Linked DNA regions of Homo sapiens: region 2 is linked to region 1. The links are contacts of gene promoters, found by promoter capture Hi-C in human tissues and cell types (Jung and others, 2019). All regions are on one chromosome and are shown on one strand. The core of a region is centred on a gene start or on the middle of the fragment in contact, and the rest is flanking DNA. Distances in the headings are between cores, read along the strand shown.

What was found. The method cuts DNA at HindIII sites, captures the fragments that hold promoters and counts their contacts. A contact is called where the count stands out against the background at its distance.
Region 2: a fragment that was not itself captured here is called in contact with the fragment with the promoter of TAS2R38 in region 1 in 2 of the 25 tissues and cell types used here (H1 embryonic stem cells and small bowel).

What each region holds. Positions count from the first base shown.
Region 1 is chr7:141,970,757-141,975,024 of GRCh38, reverse strand. TAS2R38 (taste 2 receptor member 38) reads left to right here and starts at 1,252. Exons shown (of 1, transcript NM_176817.5): 1 at 1,252-2,394. The coding sequence starts at 1,336. The coding sequence ends at 2,337. The HindIII fragment of the contact is 11,635 bases long and covers 1-4,268 here.
Region 2 is chr7:142,211,946-142,216,661 of GRCh38, reverse strand. All of the region lies in intron 46 of MGAM2 (maltase-glucoamylase 2 (putative)), which reads right to left. Among named protein-coding and RNA genes, the nearest start is that of PRSS58, 44 kb to the left of the region's middle. The HindIII fragment of the contact is 7,209 bases long and covers 1-4,716 here.

The DNA of each region.
Region 1 (4,268 bases), core at 3-2,502:
GAAGACAAGGAGAAAATTAGCTTAAGTTGAAAGTGCAGAATTCTGTGTTTGACACTCTGTAAGCATGAATGACCCAAATGAAGTGGTCACAAACACAATTAATTAAATACAACTGCTACATCATGATGCACAAATAAGGACTACATAAATATCTGCGTATGAACAGTTCAGAATAAAACAAAAGTGAACATCTTTAGTAATCACTGACTTATGTCACTACTAATAATAAAAAAGGAGCTTTAGTCAAAAGAAAACATAAAAAATACAAAGAGAAAGTATCGAAAAACACCAATGGGGCAGCACCAATAACTCTTAAAGGATTTATCGGGGGAAATTCACTCATAAGTGGCAGTTGAACAATGAGAACACATGGACACAGGGAGGGGAACATCAAACACCAGGGCCTGTCAGGGGGTAGGGGGCAAGGGGAAGGAGACCATTAGGAGAAATACCTAATATAGATAACGGGTTGATGGGTGCAGCGAACCACCATGGCAGGTGTATGCCTATGTAACAAGCCTGCATGTTCTGCACATGTACCCCAGAACTTATACTAATTAAAAAATAAACATAATAATAATCCAAACCAGCTATGCCCCCTTTCCTCTCCCTTCATGACAGCGTGCTAGTCTTGTTCATGTTAATATTCTCCTTGCCAGGCACAGTGCCTGGCATAATAATGATGATTGCATGAAACCTTTGGCAACAGCAAATAAAACTGCAATCATACACTGACACATGGAAAGGAACCATGCATTTATCTATATTAAAAACACAGTCTGTGATAAGAGTCATTACTTCACAGATGAGAGAAGGAATGCAAATGAAAAGAGACTCTATTTCAAACCTTAGATCACCAAGAATATCTGCTTTGCCTGCTGCAGGGTGCCTCAAAACCCATAAGCAAATCCTGTTCTCTTCGCCACCCCCACAGGTCCAGATGGGCATGCAAAACTGGATTGGGGAAATTGAGGCCCTGTTTTGTTTGCATCCGTGATGCTGTGCTATGGCCTTCTGGGAAGGCGGTTGTACAGGAACACCTGGATTTATTAATCTTGCATCACCCAAGAGGTAGAACCATCAGTCTTCCACCCTATGATAAGCTCTTACGTGTATCCAAGAGATGTTCTAGAGAAACAACATCCCTCTAAGTTTCCTGCCAGAACTTTTTATGCGCTCGCTTTGGGATAGATCTAGGCAAAGAGCTGGATGCTTTGTGAAGGAAAGGTCCTGGCTTGGAACGTACATTTACCTTTCTGCACTGGGTGGCAACCAGGTCTTTAGATTAGCCAACTAGAGAAGAGAAGTAGAATAGCCAATTAGAGAAGTGACATCATGTTGACTCTAACTCGCATCCGCACTGTGTCCTATGAAGTCAGGAGTACATTTCTGTTCATTTCAGTCCTGGAGTTTGCAGTGGGGTTTCTGACCAATGCCTTCGTTTTCTTGGTGAATTTTTGGGATGTAGTGAAGAGGCAGGCACTGAGCAACAGTGATTGTGTGCTGCTGTGTCTCAGCATCAGCCGGCTTTTCCTGCATGGACTGCTGTTCCTGAGTGCTATCCAGCTTACCCACTTCCAGAAGTTGAGTGAACCACTGAACCACAGCTACCAAGCCATCATCATGCTATGGATGATTGCAAACCAAGCCAACCTCTGGCTTGCTGCCTGCCTCAGCCTGCTTTACTGCTCCAAGCTCATCCGTTTCTCTCACACCTTCCTGATCTGCTTGGCAAGCTGGGTCTCCAGGAAGATCTCCCAGATGCTCCTGGGTATTATTCTTTGCTCCTGCATCTGCACTGTCCTCTGTGTTTGGTGCTTTTTTAGCAGACCTCACTTCACAGTCACAACTGTGCTATTCATGAATAACAATACAAGGCTCAACTGGCAGATTAAAGATCTCAATTTATTTTATTCCTTTCTCTTCTGCTATCTGTGGTCTGTGCCTCCTTTCCTATTGTTTCTGGTTTCTTCTGGGATGCTGACTGTCTCCCTGGGAAGGCACATGAGGACAATGAAGGTCTATACCAGAAACTCTCGTGACCCCAGCCTGGAGGCCCACATTAAAGCCCTCAAGTCTCTTGTCTCCTTTTTCTGCTTCTTTGTGATATCATCCTGTGCTGCCTTCATCTCTGTGCCCCTACTGATTCTGTGGCGCGACAAAATAGGGGTGATGGTTTGTGTTGGGATAATGGCAGCTTGTCCCTCTGGGCATGCAGCCATCCTGATCTCAGGCAATGCCAAGTTGAGGAGAGCTGTGATGACCATTCTGCTCTGGGCTCAGAGCAGCCTGAAGGTAAGAGCCGACCACAAGGCAGATTCCCGGACACTGTGCTGAGAATGGACATGAAATGAGCTCTTCATTAATACGCCTGTGAGTCTTCATAAATATGCCTCTGATTCTTCAGGAATACAACTCTGATTCCTCACAAAGCCTTCCAATTTCTTCTATAAAACACAATTGAAAGTCTCTCCACTTTGTATCAATGAACTCACTTATAGATGAATAAAATAATTAAGCACTATACATGGCCTAGGCAAGAATAATGTTGGTACCCTAGGTTTGTTTTGATAAAATGAACAAAATAATTAAGTATTTGGTGTAAATCCTTTATATACTATAGCTTATTATTGGTATAAATCAAACCATGAGAAATCATCTCTTCTGAAATAATATCTAAATCCCAAGATAATATGTTTGGCTTTTAACATGACTGTTAAACCTCTTTCTCGGAACTTGTGCTAGCATCATTTTTGGAAATATTCACTACTACAATAAGGATATAATCCTCTTCAAACTTCGCAATTTTCATGGAAACAAAGACAAACTTGGAATGATAATTATGTCATAATTCCAGCTTCAAGAGGTACCACATAACTTCAACTTCAAGAGGCACGAGAGGATAGGGGTCGTTTTGTCTGAAAATACACTGATCCAGAAATGCACTTTTACCTACTCTATAATGATGGAAGAGAAGCAGATATTTGCTCAGTAGGTGACCTGGATGCCAGTAGGTGCCCTGTGTGGGCTTTCTGGCTATGCCCAATTTGCCTTTGAAGATGGTGCTTTGCCTGGTACCAAGTATTGGTCTCTCTGGTTGGAGACCCTACCAAAATCACCTAGCTGAAAGGTAAATTTGTAGAGATTTGGCATTGTCTGTATTCCTGCACAGGAACCCAGCCAGGAAGGCTTTCCTCAAATCAGGTACTGAAAGACTCAGGAGAAAACAAGGTATACCAGACATTTAAATCTTGATAGGCTTCGTGGTTCACAGGCTTCACAGTTGTAGCAGCTCACCACCAAGGCTCTTAGTTCTGCCAGCTGTGGGGCCAGAGAACTGTTTCCTCCTCTCAGGCACTTGGTCTTAATAGATCCAGATCTTCACCTCAGTTTTCCTCCAAAAATTAGCCATTTCTTCACCTGCAGTGGCTACAAAATTTGCAACTTCATCTGGCTTCCTTTCCTTGGTGGACACTGAAGTTGTCCCAGGATTCCCTTAAAGACCTAGGTCCTCGCTCTTGGCTGCACATTGAAATTATCTAAGGGGCTTTTTAAAAATCTCAATGTCCAGGCCAAATACAACCAATCAAATCAAATCTCTTGAGATGAAATGAGGCTTTTATTCTTTAATGCTCCTCAGGTGATTTCGGGGTGCAGCCAATGTTGAGATCCACTCTTCTAGATGCCCTGTTGGTGTAGAGGTGGAGCATCTTTTCATATGTTTATTTGTATGGCTTTATTTTTAACATTATGTTTCTGAGATTCACCCATAATATTATATGAGTCACTGCTTGCTTACCTACTCACTATTGCTGAACATTTTCCATTGCCTACAGTGTGGGGCTACTATGAATAAAGTTTCTATACACATTCTTGAATCCATTTCTTTGTAGGCATAGGTTCATTTCTCAGGTAAATACCTAGGAGTGAAATTACTGTGTTAAAAAATTTATATTCATTTAACTTTATAAAAACTGTTAAAGAGTTTTCCAGAGTGATTCTGACATTTTATGCTCCCCTCAATAATGTAGGAGAGCTGTTCCACATTCCCACCAACATTTGGTGTTGTCAGTCTTTTTGATTTTGGCCATTCTAGTGGGGATGAAATGGTATCTCATTGTGGTTTCCATTTGCATTTGTCTTCTAACTGATGATATGGAGAACAATTTTGTGTGCTTCTTGGCTATTTGTATTTTTTCTATTATAAAGTAACTATTTGTTTGCCCATTTTAATATTGAGTTATCTTTTTATTATTGATTTATAAGAG
Region 2 (4,716 bases), core at 273-2,772, 240 kb before region 1:
AATTTCCTAGAATTTTGCAAGCCAGCTGATGCTTGAAATTGGTTAAGATGGTGGGAGAAGCTACACTACAGAAATTAGCAAATGTTACAAATCATCTCCCACCCCCACAAGCTGGTTTACCAACCAGGAAACCGCTGATAATAGTTATCCCCTAAGGAAAGTTGCGATCTTTCTTTCATTTCAGGCCCCTTATTCTTAAGGAAATAATCTATCAAACATCACAGAAATAAGAATTCATTTATCAGAAAAATGGAATTTTGAAGTTAGATGTTATTAAAGGGCAATCTAATGTTTTACAATTTTTTAAAAAACACAGATTAAACAGTGTCTCTCCGAATTTGAATAATAGCAGTAGAAATAGAACTAAAATTCAGGACTTCCAGATCATTAAAATAATATTCATTAAAATAATATTTGAGAGGAAAAAATATGTAGAGTCTTCAACCCAACTACTCTTAAGGGCAGAGAATACACAAATTTAATTAGTATACAAAGTCTAGCAGTTAGTTTCAGAGAGGCCAAATGCAGGATGGAACAATATGACCTGATAATCATGTCTATGAGAATAATTTGAAGGTCTTAGCTGACCATGAGATTTATATGTGCCAAACATCTGATACATGTGTTAAAAAATAACACAATGTAATAACAGCAGAAAAAATATAGACTCTAGCTAAAAAGAGGTAGTAGGCAACATGGAAGTCTATGCCATCTTATAGAAATATAAGGGAAACTATATATGTAATTGAATACTTTCTAGTAGTCACATTTTTTTAAAAAGTGAAAAGAAAAAGGGTACATTAATTTCAAAATATATTTTATTTACATGATATAGCCAAAATGTTATTATTACAACATTTTTCAATATAAAATTATTCATGAGGTTTTTTTTTTTTTTTTTTTGAGACAGAGTTTCGCTCTTGCTACCCAGGCTGGAGTGCAATGGCGCGATCTCGGCTCACCACAACCTCTGCCTCCCAGGTTCAAGCGATTCTCCCGCCTCAGCCTCCCAAGTAGTGGGGATTACAGGCATGCGCCACCACGCCTAATTTTTGGATTTTGAGTAGAGACAGGGTTTTCTCCATGTTGGTCAGGCTGGTCTCAAACTCCCGACCTCAGGTGATCCACCTGCCTTGGCTTCCCAAAGTGCTGGCATTACAGGCATGAGCCACCACGCTCAGCCAAATGTTTTTTTTTTTTTTTAATTATACTTTAAGTTCTGGGATACATGTGCAGAACATGCAGGTTTGTTACATAGGTATACATGTGCCATGGTGGTTTGCTGCATCCATCAACCCATCAACCCGTCATCTACATTAGGGATTTCTCCTAATGCTATCTGTCTCCTTGCCCTCCACCCCCAACAGGCCCTGGTGTGTGAAGTTCCCCTCTCTGTGCCCATATGTTCTCATTATTCAACTCCCACATATGAGTGACAACATGCAGTGTTTGGTTTTCTGTTCCTGTGTTAGTTTGCTGAGTGTGATGGTTTCCAGCTTCATCCATGAGCCTGAAAAGGGCATGAACTCATTCTTTTTTATGGCTGCATACTATTCCATGGTATATATGTGCCACATTTTCTTTATCTGGTCTAACACTGATGGGCATTTGGGTTGGTTCTAAGTCTTTGCTATTGTGAACAGTGCTGCAGTAAACAGACTTGTGCCTGTTTCTTTATAGCAGAATGATTTATAACCCTTTGGGTATATACCCAGTAATGGGATTGCTGGGTGAAATGGTATTTCTGGTTCTAGATCCTTGAGGAATCACCACACTGTCTTCCACAATGGTTGAACTAATTTACACTCCCACTGACAGTGTAAAAGCATTCCTATTTCTCCACATCCTCTCCAGCATCTGCTGTTTCCTGACTTTTTGATAATGGCCATTCTAACTGGCATGAGATGATATCTCATTGTGGTTTTGATTTGCATTGGGAAGTATGACCATTTTCACGATACTGATTCTTCCTATCCATGAGCATGGAATGTTTTTCCATTTGCTTGTGTCCTCTCTTATATCCTTGAGTAGTGGTTTGTAGTTCTCCTTGAAGAGGTCCTTCACATCCCTTGTAAGTTGTATTCCTAGGTATCTTCTTCTCTTTGTAGCAATTGTGAGTGGGAGTTTGCTCATGATTTGGCTGTCTATTATTGGTGTATCGAAATGCTTGTGATTTTTGCACATTGATTTTGTATCCTGAGACTTTGCTGAAGTTGCTTATCACCTTAATGAGATTTTCGGCTGAGACAATGGGGTTTTCTAAATATACAATCACATCATCTGCAAATAGAGATAATTTGGCTTCCTCTCTTCCTATTTGAATAAGCTTTATTTCTTTCTCTTTCCTGATTGCCCTGGCCAGAACTTCCAATACTATGCTGAATAGGAGTGGTGAGAGAGGGCATCCTTGTCTTGTGCCGGTTTTCAAAGGGAAAGCTTCCAGCTTTTTCCTATTCAATATGATATTAGCTGTTGGTTTGTCATAAATAGCTCATATTATTTTTATATTTGTTCCATCAATACCCAGTTTATTGAGTGTTTTTAGCATGAAAGGGTGTTGAATTTTATCAAAGGCCTTTTCTGAATCTATTGAGATAATCATGTGGTTTTTGTCATTGGTTCTGTTTATGTGATGGATTGCAATTATTGACTTGCATATGTTGAACCAGCCTTGCATCCCAAGGATGAAGCCAACTTGGTCATGGCTTTTTGATGTGCTGCTGGATTCGGTTTGCCAGTATTTTATGGAGGACTTTTGCATTGATGTTCATCAGGGATACTGGCCTGAAATTTTCTTTTTTTATTGTGTCTCTGCCAGGTGTTGGTATCAGGATGATGCTGACCTCATAAAATGAGTTAGGGCAGAGTCCCTCTTGTTTGGAATAGTTTCAGGAGGAACGGTACCAGTTCCTCTTTGTACTTCTGGTAGAATTCGGCTGTGAATCTGTCTGGTCCTGGGCTGTTTTGGTTGGTAGGCTCTTAATTTAGTGCCTCAATTTCAGACCTTGTTATTGGTCTACTCAGGGATTCAACTTCTCCCTGGTTTTACCTTCAGAGGGTGTATGTGTCCAGGAATTTATCAATTTCTTCTAGATTTTCTAGTTTATTTGCATAGAGGTGTTTATAGTATTCTCTGATGGTAGTTTGTATTTCTGTGGGATCAGCGGTGATCTCCTCTCTACCATTTTTTATTGTGTCTATTTGATTCTTCTCTCTTTTTTTCTTTATTAGTCTGGCTAGCGGTCTAACTATTCTGTTAATCATTTCAAAAAACCAGCTCCTGGAGTCACTGATTTTTTTGAAGGGTATTTCGTGTCTCTCTCTCCTTCAGTTCTGCTCTGATCTTAGTTATTTTTTGTCTTCTGCTAGCTTTTGAACTTGTTTGCCCTTGCTTCTCTAGCTCTTTTAACTATGATGTTAGGGTGTTGATTTTAGATCCTTCCTGTTTTCTCCTGTGGGCATTTAGTGCTATAAATTTCCCTCTGAAAACTCCCAGAGATTTTGATATGTTGTGTCTTTGTTTTTGTTGGTTTCAAAGAACTTATTTATTTCTGCCTTAATTTCATTATTTACTCAGTAGTCATCCAGGAGCAGGTTGTTCAGTTTCCCTGTAGTTGTGTGGTTTTGAGTGAGTTTCTTAATCCTGAATTCTAATTTGATTGCACTGCGGTCTGAGAGACTCTTTGTTATGATTTCTGTTCTTTTTCATTTTCTGAGGAGCGTATTACTTCCAATTATGTGGTTGATTTTCGAATAAGTGCTATTGGTGCTGAGAAGAATGTATATTCTGTTGATTTAGGGTGGAGAGTTCTGTAGATGTCTATTACATCTGCTTGGTCCAGAGCTGAGTTCAAGTTCTGAATATCCTTGCTAATTTTCTGTCTTGTTGATCTGTCTAATATTGACAGTGGGTGTTAAAATCTCCCACTATTATTGTGTGGGAGTCTAAGTCTCTTTGTAGGTCTCTAAGGACTTGCCTTATGAATGTGGGTGCTTCTGTATTGGGTGCATATATATTTATGGTAGTTAGCTCTTAACATTATGTAATGGCCTTCTTTGTCTTTTTTGATATTTGTTGGTTTAAAATCTGTTTTATCAGAGATGAAAATTGCAACCCCTGCTTTTTCTTTTTACTTCCCATTTGATGGGCAAATCTTCCTCCATCCCTTTATTTTGAGCCTAGTGTGTCTTTGCACATGAGATGGGTCTTCTGAATACAGCACACCAGTGGGTCTTGACTCTTTATCCAATTTGCCAGTCTGTGCCTTTTAATCAGAGCATTTAGCCCATTTACATTTAAGGTTAATACTGTTATTTGTGAATTTGATCCTGTCATTATGATGCTAGCTGGTTATTTTGCCCATTAGTTGATGCAGTTTCTTCATAGTGTCAATGGTCTTTACATTTTGGTTTATTTTTGCAGGAGCTGATACTCATTTTTCCTTTTCCATATTTAGTGCTTCCTTCAGGAGCTCTTGTAAGGCAGGCCTAGTGGTGACCAAATCCCTCAGCATTTGCTTGTAAATGGATTGCTTGTAAAGGATTTTATTTCCCCTTCACTTATGAAGCTTAGTTTGGCTGGATTTGAAATTCTGGGTTGAAAATTCTTTTCTTTAAGAATGTTGAATATTGGCCCCCATTCTCTTCTGGCTTGTGAGGTTTCTGCAGACAGATCTGCTGTTAGTCTGATGGGCTTCCCTTTGTGGGTAACCCAAC